5 separate regions of the Homo sapiens genome follow, and regions 1, 2, 4 and 5 are each linked to region 3. The links are contacts of gene promoters, found by promoter capture Hi-C in blood cells and fetal thymus (Javierre and others, 2016). All regions are on one chromosome and are shown on one strand. Each heading gives the region's core, a stretch centred on a gene start or on the middle of the fragment in contact. The rest is flanking DNA. Distances are from core to core; before and after follow the strand shown.

Region 1 (3,515 bases), core at 414-2,913, 300 kb before region 3:
CCTCTCTTCTATTTGCTTGAGATAATTCTTCCCACCTGACACCCGTGCCCCTCCTCCTCATCCTCCAGCCTTCTACCAGTCTTGTGTAGGTTCTGATAACCATTCTTGGCAGTCAAGCATTTTAATTGAAGCATGGGTTTCTGCTTAATTATTATCTCAGCGAGCGTTGGCATTGTAAGCTTTTCATTTGTGAATTGTGGAATCCATTTTTCATATTAAGGCAGAGGTAAGGGGAGAGGCAGATAAAAAAAATTTAAAATTTATTTCTTCATTTGTCCATTGAACAGATATTTATTAAACTACCATTTACCTGGCCTAACCTAGGTGTTGAGGGTCTAAGATGAGCAAGAAAGGCCACCGCTCTCAATGTTGAAGCTTCTGGGCTGCGGGAAGGGTCCAGATATCCTACTAAGCCCCTCACACATGCCAGCTAATTTAGCCTTACGACAGTCCTTTAAGAAAGCTAATTTATACACAGTTGAAGTAAATGTTAAAAATCCCACATAGTCCTTTGAAGTTTGCCCCATGCTTGATGCTTCTGCAGCTTTTGCTGCTGCTGTTCACTCCCATATTGAAGTGTTTCCTCACTTGTTTATAAACCACTACATCCCCCAACACATATTCCTACCTCCTCCCCGTGGCTCTCCAGTTCCCCTCCCGCAATCTCTTACCCAGCTCTCTCCCAGTGTGTTGGTCTCTCCCAAGTCCTGGCTTTGTGTTTTTTCTCTATTTACTGGTTTTTGTTGTTATTTTGTTTTTGTTTTTGAGACAGGGTCTCGCTCTGTCACCCCGGCTAAAGCACAGTGGCATGATCATGGCTTACTGCAGCCTCGAACTCCTGGGCTCAAGAGATCCTCTGTCCTCAGCCTCCCAAGTAGCTAAGACTACAGGCATGTGCCACCACACCCAGCTAATTATTTTTTATAGAGATGGGGGTATCACTATGTTGCCCAGGCTGGTCTTGAACTCCTAGCCTCAAGTGACCTCCTGTCTCTGCCTCCCAAAGTATTGGAATTACAGGCGTTAGCCACCGTGCCTGGCTTCCATTTGCTCTTTAACCAATATGATATCCCTAAGCTCAAGCTCTTCTGTTTCCAGTTTCCCATTGGTGATTTACCCTTTTTATGTTACCATCTCTGGCCCCTAGAGCAAAGCAGTTGCTGGTAAATGCTGGGGTCTTGACTTCTCTCCCCCTTTTCCATGAGGAGTCTGGTTGAAGCAGCTGAGCTCTAACTCTGTGGGATTCTCAGGATTACAATAGTGGCCTGACCCTAGATCTGCCAACAACAGCATCAACGTCACCGTTTCTTCCTCTTCCTGTAATTTTTAGCCAGCCCTCATTTTCCTTCCCTCTGCACCAAAAGTAGTAGATTACCACTGGAAGATTTGGCATTATTTTAGCCAGGCATTCAATGTATCTTACTAACACAGATTTTTCTGAGGTAACAGAACCTTTGCTTCTATCGCTAACACAGAATTTCACAGGTATCTGTCTTGATGATGCCAGTGTTGGTCTATTTTTAATATCAATTCCTTGGGGAGGCCTCATTAGGTGGCAGGTAACAACACAAACTTTGGAAGAGAAGCAGGTTGGAATCCAGACTCTAGCCAGGTAAATATGGGCAGGCTACCCCACTTCTCTGCAACTAAACAATGAGGTTCATAGTGATGGTCTTGAGGACGATATGAGAGTTTGAGTATAAAGTGCTCAGCACACTACGTGACGTAGAGAAAGTTCTCAATGAATGTTTCTAATTATTATAAACGTTTTACCATTGTAAATTGGTGGCTGTGGGAAGAGGAAAAGTCAGGTCAGAGTTCAGAAGCCCTATAAGTCATTTGAAGTCATTTAAGTCATTATAAGTCATTTATAATTTATTTAAGTCATTTTAAGTCATTTATAAGTCATTGTAAGTCTTTGCCCTATAAGTCATGGCTTGACTCCTGCCTGTGTTGAATAGAAGACATCTTTCTGTAATTTATCTGTAAAAGAGACTATTTATCCAAGACTTTGGAGTTTAAAACATTGATCATATCTGGGCTGGGTATGGTGGCCCAGTGCTTTGGGAGGCTGAGACAGGATTGTTTGAGGCCAAGAGTTTGAGACCAGCCTGGGCAACATAGTGAGACCCTGTCCCCACAAAAAATGGAGGAGTTAGCTGGGTGTGGTGGCTGCACAGACCTGTAGTCCCAGCTACTCAGGAGGCTAAGGCAGGAGGCTTGAGCCCAGGAGGTCAAGGCTGCAGTGAGCTATGATCATACCACTGCACTCCAGCCTGGGTGACAGAGCAAACCTTCTCTAAAAAGACAAGGCTGGGCGCAGTGGCTCATGCCTGTAATCCCAGCACTTTGGGAGGCCGAGGCAGGCAGATTGCTTCAGCACAGGAGTTCGAGACCAGCCTGGACAATGTGGCAAGACCCCATCTCTACAAAAAATACAAAAATTAGCCGGGCATGGTGGTGCGCACCTGTGGTCCCAGGTACTCGGAAGGCTGAGGTGGGAGGATTGCTTGAGCCTGGGAAGCACAGGTTGCAGTGAGCCAAGATTGGGCCACTGCACTCTAGCCTGGGTGACAGAGCCAGATCCTGTCTTCAAAAAACAAACAAAACATTGATCAGGTCCAAGTACTTGTCATCCTCAGCCTCTCTAGTGTATGTTTCACATGGTAGCTCATGCAATCCACAAAGACTAAATTTTCCATAAGCTGTGATATTTACTGAATACAACTTACATTTTATTTGCATTTTTGTCTGATTGTTTCTGTTTGCTGTCTATTGTTTCCTGTCTCTGGTTCACAGATGGTCTAATATGTGGCAGTTTTATGCCAGTGTCCTCTCCAGAAATGCTCATCAGGTGGTAGGAAAGCAAGCACTAAAGATTTTTCTAGTCCCTTCTTGAAGCACATTCAGAGTCTGGGGACTGTCAAGAGAATGAAAGTGAGAAAGCTTTTGCTACACATCCTGCACAATCCAACACTAACTCTGTTTTATTCTCCAGGACCTACAGATAGAACGAGAGAGGAGTTCATATAATATATCTGGTGGCTGCACGGCCCTCATTGTGATTTGCCTTTTGGGGAAGCTGTATGTTGCAAATGCTGGGGATAGCAGGTAAGCAGATGAGCTGTCTGATTCTTGCTAATTTCTAATGCCTTCTGATGTTTTTATTTTGTCTCAAAAATTAAATGATTAGAAATAATTAAAGACAGGCCTTCTACATCAGAATGAAAATGCATTTAAGGACAATCAGGTTGATATTACAAGGTAAAGGCAGTCTCTTACTTATGCATATAGCATTTCATGTACACGTCTGTGATAAATCTAAACCAGTAGTATTCAAACGTTTTTTGACTTCAGAATCTGTTTCTCAGTGAAAACTTAGCAGGAGCATAATATGTGAGAGTGATGAGGAGGAAGGAAAGGGATTCGAGTGCCCTGGGTGTTTGGAAGGGGGCCTGGGATGACTCCCCAGTTGACTCCACTTTTACTTAGTGACTTTGCACTGTTCTCTCCCA
Region 2 (3,274 bases), core at 737-3,236, 360 kb before region 3:
CATCTTATTAATGAACTTTTGCACCTTAGTTATTTTTGGAATAAATTAATGAGTTAGGAGCTATTTTGAAAATGTAGGATGTAAGAATTTTATGTATTTACTGATTAATTTATACTTCATGTCAATACAGAAAGGATATTTTGCAACCAGCATACAAAAATATATGCAATTTAGAAATGTAATGAAATGAAAATTAACCTCATGGTCCTTTTTATGAAGAAAAATTTTTCCTCATGATTTCCTCTCTTATGCTTCTGGTTCCGCTATTAAAATTTATTCTCAGCCATTGAGAACTCATTTCTTACCATAGGCAGGATTCTGGAACAATGAGATCTATTTTAATCTCTAGATTAAAATGCAATAAGGAAGGTAAACAGTTACCTCATTTTGAGTCTGTGGAATTTCCAACAATTTCTGAGTCCTTCCGCATCCCAGGCCATGGGAGTGATGATTTGTTTTTTTTTCAGTTGCTAGATTTCTGAACAGCTTACTGTCTACTCTTGGTAAGCTTCAGTAATAGTTATCTATGTAAGTTTAACAGCTTTTTTTTTGAATCCTTAAAATAAACTTTGATTTACTCAATTGATAATAAATCAAAGATATTCAGAAGATTAAATATGCCTGATCAGTGGCTGTCAGATGTTTACCTCACTGGCTTGCTCTGGTCATAACTGGCAAAAATTTGCTACTTCTTGTTGTCTTTTACCTCTTAGCACAGGATGTTAGGTAGAGATCCTTGAGCTTGTGATATAAATTTTAACCCTGAATTATAATTTCTCCCCTGAAGTCAACAAACCTTTCATTTAGTAGGTACTTGACTGCCTGCAGTATATCAGGCACTATGCTAATCTCTGAGAATACAGAATTAAATAAGTTTCTACCCCTACCTTCACGGCCCTTGCAGTTTAATAATGATAGTATAGTGAGGGTGTATTGAGAGTTGGGTCTTGCTATACTCTAGCTTGCAATTGACAGCCATTCAAGGGAAATTTATTAGAGAATATTGGGGTTACCCAGATATTCCAAAGACAAATGGGTCTTGGGAACACCTAGAACTAGGGACTCTGTTGAGATTCTATTTCCAACATGTACTCTTCTCACAAATATGTACTCTTCTCCTCTTTGTCTCTCCCTCTCTTCCCCTTCTTGCCTTCTGCTGCCTTTTTCTTTCTTTCATTTTTCACAGAAGGGCCCTAATTGGCTCAGCTCAGAGATCAGGTGGCCATCCCTAAACCAGTCACCTCTGGCCATGGAAAAACCATATGAATGGGACGGAGGAGGGTGGGAAGGAAAGATGATGTCTAGGAGAAAGGGAGTCTGGGCAGATAAAAACATCTCTGACAGGTATATGCACTTTACATTTATGCATTCTCTTAGTCCACACAGTAGCCCATTAACCTCCCCAAGACACACAACTAGCCAGTGGCAGAGCTAGGATACCAATCCAAGTTTCTGGTGATTTCCATACTATGAGCACTGTGCTACTTACTGGTTACACTGCAGTCTTTAAGAACAATAAAGTGCATGCAAAATAGCCTTAACAAACTGAATACTGAAGGACAAGGGATGTTTGTCAGACAAGAGGAGGTTAGGTCATTGCAGGGGGTGGAAAAGGCATGTGAGAAGGAATCGTGGTATGTAGCAACTGGGTGCTTTTTGTAAACCACAAACTGTTTATTATGGCTAAGGATGAGGGGGTGCGAGGAGACCAGATGGGGGAAGCTGAGGATATTCAGAGGGCCCGTCAGGAAGACACTGATATGGTAAGCTAAAAAGTTAAAAAAAAAAAAAATTTTTTTTTTTTTGAGGCGGAATCTCGCTCTGTTGCCCAGGCTGGAGTGCAGTGGCGCAATCTCGGCTCACTGCAACCTCCGCCTCCTGGGTTCAAGAGATTCTCCTGTCTCAGCCTCCTTAGTAGCTGGGACTACAGGTGCCTGCCACCATGCCCAGCTAATTTTTGTATTTTTTTTAGTACCGATGGTTTTGCCATGTTGGCTAGGCTGGTCTCGAACTCCTTACCTCAGATGATCCGCCTGCCTTGGCCTCCCAAAGTGCTGGGATTACAGGCGTGAGCCACCGCACCTGGCCCAAAAGTTTAAATTTTATCCTGAAATCTTCAGAGCCCATTTGGAGATATTTGAGCATGGGAGAGACATGGCCACATTCACGGTTGAGAAAGGTCAGTCCGGGCCTGCTGTGCAGGATTTACTAAGAAGAGACGACAGGTTAGGAGGTTTAAATATTGGTGCCTGCTGGATGTGACAAGGGCCTGGACAAGGCATGGAAATGGGGATGTAAGTCATAGTTATGACTTAGCCCCGCAGGCTGAGAAGCTAGATGTGGGGAGAGTAGTAAGCTGGGAGGACAAGGATGCTCCTTGGAATTCTTTGTCCACTAAGACAAAGAACACCAGAAGGAGGATTGTATTTGAGACAGGAAGGAGACAGCAGAAGGAAGGAGAAATGAATATAGGGTTGGGCAGCTTGCATGTTGTGCAACATGCAAAGGCAGATATTCTACAGGTATTTGGAAACACAGGCCAGGCACCCCCAGAGATCTGTACTGTAGATATGATTTTGGCAGTGCTTAGTGTTTGGATCTTAAATGAAGCCTTGGGAATAGAGACGATCTCCCAGGGAAAGTTGTCTGGGGAGGAAGAACAGCAAGCCACATTTGCAGCCCCAAGGAACAGCAGCACTTGAGGTTCCCTTGTACACCCGTATTAAAGGTCTAGTTGGGGATAGGAAGTCAAGTCAATGAAATTTCCATTTTTACAAGACTTTCCATACCTCATATATGGTCTACCAGGTGTCAGAGAATTGCCTCAGCAAGAAGTACCACTCCCCTTTTCTAAAACTATGTTCCATGTAAATTTTAGCTCTGAAAGAAGTATAGATTTTGTATTAACTACAGATGGAGGCAAGAAGAGGATGGAGGTATAGGCTCAACAGTTAGAAAAGAAGCCTTAGGAACTTCCCATTCCATGCAGAGATCCTCAGAGTATCCCTGGGAGGTCATAAGCCAGCTTTTGGACATTTCCAGTGAAGGGAATTCTACTTTTTGAGGTAACTCATTGCATGGCTGGGTAGCTTCAAACCGATAGTGTCAGAATTATCTTTCTGCTACTTCCAGGTCCTGTTTAGACCTTTGGAATTTCCCTCCTTTGCAGTAGTCTTTTGATGTTGTAAAAGAGCCATCCTGGCCCTCCAGGGCCTTCTTGGTCGGCTCTAACTGTTAATAGGGTGAGAACTTATTTATAAGGCAGAAGCCAGAG
Region 3 (3,583 bases), core at 159-2,658:
TTTCTTACTCATCTTAAGAGTAATTTATTAGACATTTTACTTGGGATAGAATGCTGGAATAACAGTGATCCTCTGAGGAAATCAGTCTTTTTTTAAAAAAAGTCTTCCACAAACTATAAAACCAATAAAAATTTGTATTATTGGAGAATAATTAAGGACTTACCACGGTATCAACAATGATATTAGCAACAGTAAATATTTTAAATATTTACAGTGATATTCTAATACGATTGGCCTATGGTAAGTCTCCAACATAAAAATATCCAGGTCATCATTTTTCTTTAAACACCAATTTCCCCACAGTAGCTAATCTGCCTAATGTACATCTCCCATTAAAACCCACATGCTGGCCGGGCGCAGTGGCTCACGCCTGTAATCCCAACACTTGGAGAGGCCGAGGCGGGAGAACCCCGAGGTCAGGAGTTCGAGACCAGCCTAGCCAACATGATGAAACCCTGTCTCTACTAAAAATACAAAAATTAGCCAGATGTGGTGTTGGGCACCTGAAATCTCAGCTACTCGGGTGGCTGAGGCAGGAGAATCGCTTGAACCCAGGAGGCAGAGGTTGCAGTAAGCCGAGACCACACCATTGCACTCCAGCTGGGATAACAAGAGCAAAAGTCCATCTCAGGAAAAACAAACAGACAAACAAAAAAAACCCACTTGCCAGCCTTCCTAACCCTACCATGTGCACCTCTGCCTTTACCCACCACTTTCACTATACCACTTCTCAATATGCACACAGAGCATTATTTACTTCTGTGCATAATGTTATAAAACTATTGGGTGTTTTGATAAGACTGTTCAAAATCAGGGAAAAAGCTGTGGGAAACAGATGTAATTGAGGAGCGCTTATGCTAAGGGCAAATTTCCAGCAAAGCTGGATAGCCTAAGTGAAATCCACTCTTGCCCCCGATCCTTAATCTGACCCCAAAAATCTTAATTTCATTTCATAACACTCTGAAATCCCACCAGTTACAGATTTACTGGTATCCCTTTTAAAAAATGTAAAGTATATGAAAGTTAAAGAGATTATTTACTATTTGGACTCTGTAAATTAATTTAATAGGACTACTTTCCTCATAGATTAGCTGAGATCAACAGCACTACTGGAACTGGAAATGCAGATTAAAGGATCACTGAAGCAAGCACTGGTTACATATGTAATACTTGGGAGTAAGTGGCTAACGTGGAAACCTGGTGATACCATGGTAGCACACTGTAGCAGGAAGAACATGGGCTCCTGAACACTCCTGGATTTTAATCTGGTTCTATCACCTTTCCTGTGACCTTGGGCAAGTAACTTAACCTCTTCACATCTCAATTAGCTCTACTATCAAATAAGATAATATTTCCCCACAAGGTTGTTATGTAAGATAGAATGACACAAGTGCCTTGCATATAACAGATTCTTAAAAAAAAAAAAAAAAAAAAGCCAGTTTACCTCTTTTCCATGTTCATTATTGAGGCAAGAACAAAAGGCACCAAGGAAGAGAAAGGAGTGGACTGGGTAGAAAAGAAGGATGCCAAAGAGAAACTCCTGAAAATTCCTCCTTGAAAATCAGGTTCAATCAAGAGAAGGTAAGAAAACATTTTTGTTTTCTTTTCTCTACTTCACTCTCATTCTTTTTTCATGATCATACTGCCTTAATCCCAAGACTCAAAATTCATACGGTACAACTAAATACAGAAGACTATGTTATGAACTGTTCGTATTATATTAAAGAGAAAGTAGATCACAGAAGGTGGACTGAGAACAAATCTTTCATTCAATACAATGGAACAAATATTACTGAATGCTTTTTATGGTGTGTCTCAGGTGATTAGCAGGAAGTGGAGGAGAATGCGAAGATGAGTAAGAAAAAATTCCTTGCCTTTAAGGAGTCAGTAGTGTTAAGCTTTCTGATTTCAGAGAATTTTTGTAGCATTCGTCTCTGGGAAATACAGTCAGTTCATAAGTTATGGACTTTTGCCCATTCTGTTTCATTATGAATAGCATATGTTAGGGCATGAGGAAGAGATGTTACAGAAAACTGATGGCTTTTACAATAAAGATTCTACTTTTACTATTAGTCAAATTTTTGTTTATTATTAAATTTTTAATACAAAAAATTACCTGCCAAAATTTCAGTGTTTCGTGCAGCAATTGTTTTAACTTTTATTATTCCTGATTCAGCAGCCTGCAAGAATAAAAATAATTAGAACACAAAATTTACTGCCAAAATGAATTATCTATGGAAAATAAGTCATATGTGATAGACAAAATATCAAGCACAAAGTCAGTCACTACCCTACCACCTTTTTAATTTTCAAACCATCAGATACTAAGCCCAGTAGTGACATATACGTTAAATGTAATAAAACATGATTAATTTGATTATTCACATGCAAACTCTGAATGCACTACAACATGTTGCCTTCCTCTGCCTTAAGGCATTATCTGGAATACCTCAATCCCCTGCAAAGTTAAATTTTCCGAGAATAAAAATAACAAACAAAAACAAAATCTACTGAAAATAATTAGGCTCCTTTTCCCCATTTCAAGCCTCCTCTCTCTCCACCACACACAAAAAAATTATAGAACACTGCAAAATCAAGTAAAACTACTGTGTTGGATTTATTTATTTATTGTTGATGGAGTTTTTTGCTCTTGTTGCCCAGGCTGGAGTCCAATGGCACGATCTTGGCTCACTACAACCTCCGCCTCCCTGGTTCAAGCCATTCTCCTGCCTCAGCCTCCCAAGTAGCTGGGATTACAGGCACCCACCACCATGCCTGGCTAATTTTTGTATTTTTAGTAGAGTGTTTTATTTTTGTACTTTTTGTATTTTTAGTTGGCCAGGCTGGTCTTGAACTCCTGACCTCAAGTGATCCACCCATCTCAGCCTCCCAAAGTGCCAGGATTACAGGCATGGGCCACCGTGCCCAGACCTGTGTTGGATTTTAAAAGCTACTTTGTTTTCTTTTTTGAGAATGGATAACCAAACACTTCATTAACCGTAGTATGTTTAGCGGGCAGTACTGGCAAGTCACATAGTATTTTACAGAATGCCACAGAACTGCACTGTCCAATTTGGTAGCCATTTGGCTACATGTGGCTATTAAGCACTTGAAATGTGGCCAGTCTGAATTGAGCTATGCTCTAAGTGTAAAATATATACTAGGTTTTGAAGACTTAGTATTAAAAAAAAGAATATAACCTATCCCCTAAATATTTATACTGACTACATGTTGAAATAATATTTCAAATTATTACGTTAAATTATTATTAAAATTAAATGTCTGTTTCTTTTTACTTTTTTTCCCCTTTTTTTTAGAGACAGGATCTTGCTGTACTGCCCAGCCTGGAGTGCAATGCCACAATCATGGCTTACAGCAGCCTCAAACTACTGGGCTCAAGTGATCCTTCCACCACCGTCTTCCAAGGAGCTGGTACTATAGGTACATGCCACCATGTCCAGCTAATTTTTCAATTTTTTTGGTAGAGACAGGGCCTTGCTATATTGCCTAGGCTAGTCTTGAACTACTGGCCTCAACCGATCCTCCCACCTCAGCCTCCCAAAGTGCTAAGATTACAAGCATG
Region 4 (3,584 bases), core at 856-3,355, 300 kb after region 3:
AGGGCTCCACTTTCATGATATAATTACTTCTCAAAGGTCCCACCTACAAATACCATCACATTGGAGATTTAGGCTTTAGTATATGAATTTTGGGAAGACACAAACATTCAGTCCATAGAAAGCACTCTCTAGGTGTTTGGGCTATCTTAGTATACAAAAAAGGCAGACATCTGCCCTCATGATATTTACCATTTTAGTATATTACTTGGAGTTTTGAAATTAATCTGAAGGAATGGTTCAACAATGTATTGTGCTGTATGTTTTCTTCTTAGTCATTCTTATTTATAGCTGTGAAGTATAGGTCTGAAAAGAAATAATTAAAATAGTTAAATATTTGAGTTGAAATGGATTGTGAAGAAAAATATTATAGAATATATTTGAGGTGAGGTATGTAATGCAGTGGATTGATTCTAGCTCACAAGGTCTGTCCTCAAATGGAGGGTGACACAAATGGTAGATGCAGAAGTTTAAATTTATGCAAAATATTTGGAACAGGCTCTGTAGTCCCAGAATGCCTTATTCCTCATAACAGTGCCTTTTAAACTTCTATGTGTACACAAATTACCAGGGAAATTTTGCTAAAATGAAGGTTCTGGAAGAGGGCCTGAGATTCTGCCTTTTTAACAAGCTCCCAGCTGAATACTGTTGGCCCGTGGACTATGGTTTGAGTTGCATGGCTTTAGAAAGCATTTTTATCACTAAATTTTATTCTGCACATTCGAAAAGGTGGGAAGCCTTCAACTCTTACCCCTTTGACAGGTTTCTCCCTGTGGCAAGCAGCTCAAACCTGGTCACTGACTCCAAACATTTTTCTCATAGGCTCTTTCATAGGAGCACAGAATTTGTAAGTGTTTTGCTTAGTTTTTTAACCTTCCATTTAGAGAACATATTTTTCCTCCAATACGTAAATTAGAAATTGTTTTTCACATATTAATACAAGTTTGGTTTACATCCTACAGTTTGAAGAGATGTTTATTTCATAACTAAGACATTATATTATATATCAATATATTCTAGTATACAAAGTCAATTTTAGTTCTCCAAATTATTTTTGGAATTTCAATAGTGACTTATTCCTTTTAGGGCTTAGATGTCAAAATTTTGGCCATAATGTCTAGGTTTTTGTTCTACTTGAGTAGCTACTATGTGTAGCGGGGGGGGGATGGACTTGAGAAAAGATGAAGCTTTCCTTGTGTATTTATTGGGCTTACAATTTTAAAATGAATATCTCTTCCTTTTTGTAAATTTTGCCCTGTTAATCTTAAATAACTTTCCATAAGTGATTCCTATAGGATTGAAGACATAATACTTTATGATTTAGGAAGTTTGAACTTCTTATCTTCATATATTAGAAGGATTTTCTCACCCTAAGCCAGTTTGGCTAATGTCAGAAGGTGTCATAGCTAAGGTACGTGACTCTATTCTACTGCTGTCTAGGACCTCATGTCACAAGCTCAGTTCACTGGATGAAATATTTCGTCATCAGTTTTATCAATGCTCTGGAAGTTCTTATGTTTCCTTATGCTGGTGTATTAATTATAAACTGAGATTAGATTTAGACATGTCAGTCTGAGGGAGTGAAGCAATTTGTTTTCTTTCAAGTTGTATGATTAATATAGTTCGTAATAGTCATGCTATTAAATCTTACTCAGTTTTTTTCTTCTAAGTGTTTACAAGTTTCTACTATATAGAATAGCTTTGCTTATAGCAGAGGAATGATATCAATTCATTCCACTGAATCTGTTAGACTGTAAGCTCTGTGAGGCAGACCCATGTATATCTCATTTCTATTGATTCTCAATGTTTAGCATAGTGTCTGGCATCTAATAGGTACTTAATAAACTTAATGGGAAGATGGGATCAGTAGTTACATAGTTACAAATTGATAGAGTGTAGCTTTATATGTTTCTTCAATGCCGAAGGGAGAATTCTGTGAAGAAGTGTCATTTCTAATTATGTGTGTGTGCACACGCGTGTGTGTATGTGAGAGAGAGACTCAGGGGGCGGGGGGCACCAGTTTTTCTGACCTACACCCGAATTAACAAATACATTCTAGGCAAAAGGTCAAGGACAAAAATAAAGTAAGCATGCTGACTGAAATTCTCATTCTTTCCATAATTTATTGTAACCTGGAGACTTAGAGACTACATACACTTGTGATTCTACTGTTGTATAAATTAAATAATATTTGTCAATGTCAAATTTAAGTGTTGTTAATCACATATGGAATATATTTTGATTGCTCTTGTCAGTAACTTGACTCATTCATTAGGGAATTTAAAGCCATTTATTCTTATCTACATAATTACCATTTTTGTAATTTATCATGAACTGGGATTTGCTTTTTTTTTGTTAACTTCAGAAACATTATTGACCATGATACCATTGTTCTTGGCTTCAATGATACTAAATTTTTTTGGCTATTCTAATTCTAAATGCTATTTAGTATAGCTAATATGCTCAGATATTTATTGATTTCATTTTCACCCTTCTGAGTTAAGTAAGGCTTCTAAATTCTTGCCACCATAGAAGATTCCACAAAATTAAAACTCTTTGACTGTACTTGATTATTTAAAAAACACATATGTTTAATAAAACCTGAAAAAGTTCAGTTTATTAGATTATAAAAAAGTTGAATATTTTTTCTTTGCATGTATTTTAAAAGATTATAACTGTATATATTAGCATTGCTACACACTTAGAAACTTTCTCAAAACCCTTGAATATGATGTCTTTAGTCTTTGAAGTATAATATTTTTGGGATTCTCTGATGATTCTCAAGAAAGGCTTTAAATGGAATGAACCTGATTTTTCCTTGTATTGTCCCAAAACACTCAGACTTGTGTAACTAAGCTCTAAGCTCAATCTAATTTTTGAGCTATGGCTACGGTGGTACTTATTGAAAAAGATGTATCTATTCTTCTTCCCCAATGCAATCCCAAATATGAAAATTCGTAAAAAATTCAGGTACTGTATAGTACTGAAAAAAATTTAAAATCAATACATGGAATTGAAATCAAGCTTACTGCACATTGGTGAATTTTACCTTGGAGCAGAGTCCATGTTACACTACTAGGAAAACTGGGTGAGCTATGATTTTCCTTGCTTACTGTCTTTTCCTAGCAGCTGATTACCTAGTCTTTAAGGTGAACTTCAGGGTTTGTAGCTAATATTTTACTTTGCATTTTATGAAATCTGCATCAAGTTCACTGGGCAGATGGTATGGCAGACCGGAGTGAACTGAGAGAAAAAAGCAGACTGAATAACTGGCAGTCAGGGATTGAGAAGGTGGCAGGGTTAGCATTTTGTGGGATATAACGAGGAAGAATTATCAGGTAGGGAGCCAGATGGAGTAAAAGTAAGAGAGAAAAGAAGATCAGAAGGGAAGTTTGTTCTAGATTTCTCTCTAAAAAAAGAGGAAATCCTTGACCTTTGAGAAAAGTAAGAAGTTAGAAAAGAATAAATCCATTGAAATTCTTGGGGAACAAAGAGGTAAAATGGCAATGCACTGAAGTAAGACCATAGAGGAGAGAAAAATGCGTGGAGCCAAACCGAGTGTCCTGCCTCAGTCTTGTAAAACCTCT
Region 5 (3,684 bases), core at 742-3,241, 270 kb before region 3:
CGGAGCAGAGTATGACTGGTGTGTGGTTAGAATGTAATCTTTAACCTGGGACTCAGTGCTTACCCTTCAGAGCTAGTCTAGGTCATTTGGCCATTTACTCACCTTTTATAGGAAAAGTTATTTTTCTTTAGTCATTCTGGGAATTGGCCTAACTATTAGGATGACATTTAAGTCGCTCCAGGTTAAATTGTAGGACAGAGTTAGATATTGGAATTCCTGTATATATTTAGTGGGGTCTGATGAGAAAGAGCCTAAACACTGGCTGATTTGGGAAAGGTCTGATAGAGAAAAAGGCACATGTACCCTGACTATGCCTTCAGCTCCAGCCACCTCTCTAAGCGGAAATTGTTGAGCAGGTGGGGGAGAGCTAGTTGCAGAATGAAACTGTAAACCAGACTGGGTGTGAGGGGAGGTAATAGAAGGGTTATAGGGTGGGGGAGCAGAGGCTGAAGAAGAGTTGGAGCCTGATTCAACCTGGCAGGGAGCGACCGGAGGAGGAGCAGCCTGGGGAGGAGGTGAGAGGTCAGATGGGTTAGTAGAAAGGGAAGATTCACAAGACTCAGTGACACTTGGGGTTGGGACTGAAGGGACAGGTGGGAGGGAAAGAAGAAAGATTTGGGACGAGTCTCACTGGGAGCAGAGACTAGGGAGGAACCAATGTGTAAAAGAATGCCTGGACGTCAGGCACCTCAGACCATTTGCCCATTTTTCGACAAAAATTATCTAGATCTTGTAAAACAGAGAAATCAAAAGTGCCATTTTCTGGCTATTTAGAACCATTGTCGAGTTTGTACTGGGGCCAAACAGTATTGCAGAAGAAAATAAGATGCTTAGATTTTAGGTCAGGCTAGAGTTGAAGAGGTTTTAAGTTCTTGAGAACACAGGCTAAGGGAGAAGAAGGAAGAATGGAGGGTGGAAGGTTGCCCATAGTGAAGGAGGCAAGTTTAAAGAGAAGGGTAGAGACATGGAGAGAAGGGATGGGGGGTGCTTGCCCCCCAGGAAAGTGAAGAAGGGGTGAGAGGTGCTTGCCCCCCAGGAAAGTGGAAACAGGGTGGGAGATGCTTGCCCCCCAGGAAAGTGGAAACAGGGTGGGAGGTGCTTGCCCCCCAGGAAAGTGGAAATGGGGTGGGAGGTGCTTACCCCCCAGGAAAGTGGAAAAGGAGTGGGAGGTGCTTGCCCCCCAGGAAAGTGGAGAAGGGGTAGAGACACGGAGAGAAGGAGTCAGGGGTGCTTGCCCCCCAGAAAAGCGGTGCTTGCTGCTAAGGGTGAAAGACCAAGGCAGGCATCCCCGAGTGGTCAGACACCTCTGAAACGTGGGTGAATAATCAGGCAGGCGTCCCCGCAATGATTAATCACCAAGGGAAGGCTGTCTTCCCGAGTCCGTGACCAGTGCCAGAATTTTGGGTCCACGGATAAAATGTGTCTCCTTTGTCTCTACCAGATAATGAAAGGAATTGAACTTAAGAGAAGGGAGAGATTGAAGGGTGGTGCCAAGATTGAAAGGAGAAAGAGGTTGAGGGATAGTGAGAGAGGTTGGAGAAGAGAGTAAAAATAGACCGCTTACCCGATTTAAAATCAGTGAGATGTTCATTGGGCTGGTTGGTCTGAGGACCTGATGTCATAGGTGGATCTCTTCATGGAGTGAGAGTGAGGTGAGGACAGGGGACTGGTCTCCCGAAGGAGTCCCACTTACCCGAGTCTTCGGCACCAAATGTCTCACGTGTTCGTGTGAAGAGACCACCAAACAGGCTTTGTGTGAGCAACATGGCTGTTTATTTCACCTGGGTGCAGGCGGGCTGAGTCCAAAAAGAGAGTCAGCAAAGGGTGGTGGATTATCGTTAGTTCTTAAAGGTTTTGGGATAGGCAGTGGAGTTAGGAGCAATGTTTTGCGGGCAGTGGGTGGATCTCACAAAGTATATTCTCAAGGGTAGGGAGAATTACAAAGAACCTTCTTAAGGGTGGGGGAGATTACAAAGTACATTGATCGGTTAGGGTGGGGCAGAAACAAATCACAATGGTGGAATGTCATCAGTTAAGGCTATTTTCACTTCTTTTGTGGATCTTCAGTTGCTTCAGGCCATCTGGATGTAAAAGTGCAGGTCACAGGGAATATGATGGCTTAGCTTGGGCTCAGAGGCCTGACACTAACCACCACAGCATTTCATGGAGAAAAGAAATTCTCTTAGCTCTCAGATAGTTCCTGTCTAGGTGACACCTGTCTTGGGTTAGATGCTCCTTTTTTTTCCTCCACAGTTGGAAGGTTTAAATAAAATGTAGCCAGTGTGGAGAGTGAGATGATTGCAATTATGGAGGCAGAAGGATAAGAAGTTTGAAGTTTAGGCAAAGCACATGTCCCACCACCAAGATAAAACAAACAGTGATTCAGTCAAGAATCTGAGTTTTGGCTTAATTTCTCATGCATGTGCATTGTAGGTCATCTTTAAATTTATTTGACTTGTGAAAACAATTTTAACTACAAATAAACACACAAAGCAGTATAAATATGGAAACCCCACACAGGCAGGGACCTCCCTTTGGTGAGAACGCTATAGGCATAGATGAATCATGCTGAGATAGTTTGCATCTGTGAGGTTCATGTGAACTTTGAGGCCACCAGACCTCAAGGCAAAAATAAATACCCTTCAAAGACTTTGTAGCTTCCAAGAATTATTCATGTGGAAACCAAATGAAGATGTTGATTTCCAAGAAAGAGATCTCACAACTACAATGGATGACTGAGTGATTCCAGCCAAACACAAGAAAGTATTAACTTTTTAAATCTATTATTGAAGGAAAGTAATTGTAATTATGGTACATTACTTTAGGGTTCTGGGGTAGTTTTAAGCACTTAGCTTTAAGCACTCCAGTTTAGCCTTTTGAACAGCAAATTCATGTTTCAAATTACAATGACTGTCTCTATTACTGCGCTTTCTAATTCCTTCTAAACCTCACTCCTAAATTGCACCAGGCTGGAGCCATAAAGGGTTGCATGTGGGAAGCCTCCATCTGCTTTTCTTCTTTGAGAGGTGGTTGTGAATGAGACCAGCCAATGGGAATAAGATAATAATTGTGTTCTAAGAGCCTCTTGTTCTGTGGAGTGTGTGACTTACTGACTGATGCTAAACATTTGAAATTGTAAATTTGGATAAGTCCATAGAAATTGGGACACAGAAACATGGGTCTTAAATGATAGAGCTGCTTCCGAGTGTTTTCTGGAGTGGTGTTATGGTAGGAAGTGCCTTTCAATAATTCTATTGTAAAGACAACCTTACAACTTGAAACTTGCCCCAAGAAAGACACTTGAAAATAGTAGATCTATGATGGTACATTTCTGGTGAATTTACTAGAGTGTGTTTTCTTCTAGTGAATTTATCTCTTCATTGATTTTATTCATTCCTGTGATCTAAGGGTGAACTGGTCTATTTTCATTTTACAGTTTGAGAAAGAAGTTAAACCCTAAGCAACTATAATAGTTTCTCTAGAACTTAAAATATTTTTTACACACCTGAAGATTTTTTCAGCCTTACTAGGCCATGGTATAAATATTTCTCCTATTTCTTGTGTTGAAATGGGAGGTGTCTCAGGAAGCTGAGTTTCCACTTTTGGCATAACTAATCCCAGCAAAAACAGGAAACAGTTTATCTATCAAAAATCACACTCCTGATTTTATCCATGATGTTCTTC

The links. Contacts are between HindIII fragments. The CHiCAGO score rates a contact against its expected background, and 5 or more counts as called.
Region 1: a contact is called between a fragment that was not itself captured here and the fragment with the promoter of MON2-AS1 in region 3, in 11 of 17 cell types (naive B cells, total CD8 T cells, total B cells and 8 more). The highest score is 18.4, in naive B cells.
Region 2: a fragment that was not itself captured here is called in contact with the fragment with the promoter of MON2-AS1 in region 3 in 5 of 17 cell types (total B cells, fetal thymus, naive B cells and 2 more); the score reaches 9.6 in total B cells.
Region 4: a fragment that was not itself captured here is called in contact with the fragment with the promoter of MON2-AS1 in region 3 in 1 of 17 cell types (activated CD4 T cells); the score reaches 5.1 in activated CD4 T cells.
Region 5: a contact is called between a fragment that was not itself captured here and the fragment with the promoter of MON2-AS1 in region 3, in 5 of 17 cell types (activated CD4 T cells, naive CD8 T cells, non-activated CD4 T cells and 2 more). The highest score is 5.3, in activated CD4 T cells.

What each region holds. Positions count from the first base shown.
Region 1 is chr12:62,787,822-62,791,336 of GRCh38, reverse strand. It overlaps PPM1H (protein phosphatase, Mg2+/Mn2+ dependent 1H), which reads left to right. Exons shown (of 10, transcript NM_020700.2): 4 at 2,999-3,111. Among named protein-coding and RNA genes, the nearest start is that of PPM1H, 150 kb to the left of the region's middle. The HindIII fragment of the contact is 2,571 bases long and covers 378-2,948 here.
Region 2 is chr12:62,845,031-62,848,304 of GRCh38, reverse strand. All of the region lies in intron 1 of PPM1H (protein phosphatase, Mg2+/Mn2+ dependent 1H), which reads left to right. The region is part of intron 1 of LOC105369795 (a long non-coding RNA gene); the gene reads right to left. Among named protein-coding and RNA genes, the nearest start is that of PPM1H, 88 kb to the left of the region's middle. The HindIII fragment of the contact is 2,951 bases long and covers 511-3,274 here.
Region 3 is chr12:62,482,767-62,486,349 of GRCh38, reverse strand. MON2-AS1 (MON2 antisense RNA 1) reads left to right here and starts at 1,408. Exons shown (of 2, transcript NR_186172.1): 1 at 1,408-1,581; 2 at 3,318-3,583. MON2 (MON2 regulator of endosome-to-Golgi trafficking) reads right to left here. Exons shown (of 35, transcript NM_015026.3): 2 at 2,117-2,180. The HindIII fragment of the contact is 7,471 bases long and covers 1-1,900 here.
Region 4 is chr12:62,179,569-62,183,152 of GRCh38, reverse strand. All of the region lies in intron 1 of TAFA2 (TAFA chemokine like family member 2), which reads left to right. Among named protein-coding and RNA genes, the nearest start is that of TAFA2, 11 kb to the left of the region's middle. The HindIII fragment of the contact is 1,837 bases long and covers 1,187-3,023 here.
Region 5 is chr12:62,757,231-62,760,914 of GRCh38, reverse strand. All of the region lies in intron 4 of PPM1H (protein phosphatase, Mg2+/Mn2+ dependent 1H), which reads left to right. Among named protein-coding and RNA genes, the nearest start is that of MIRLET7I, 160 kb to the right of the region's middle. The HindIII fragment of the contact is 7,008 bases long and covers 1-3,684 here.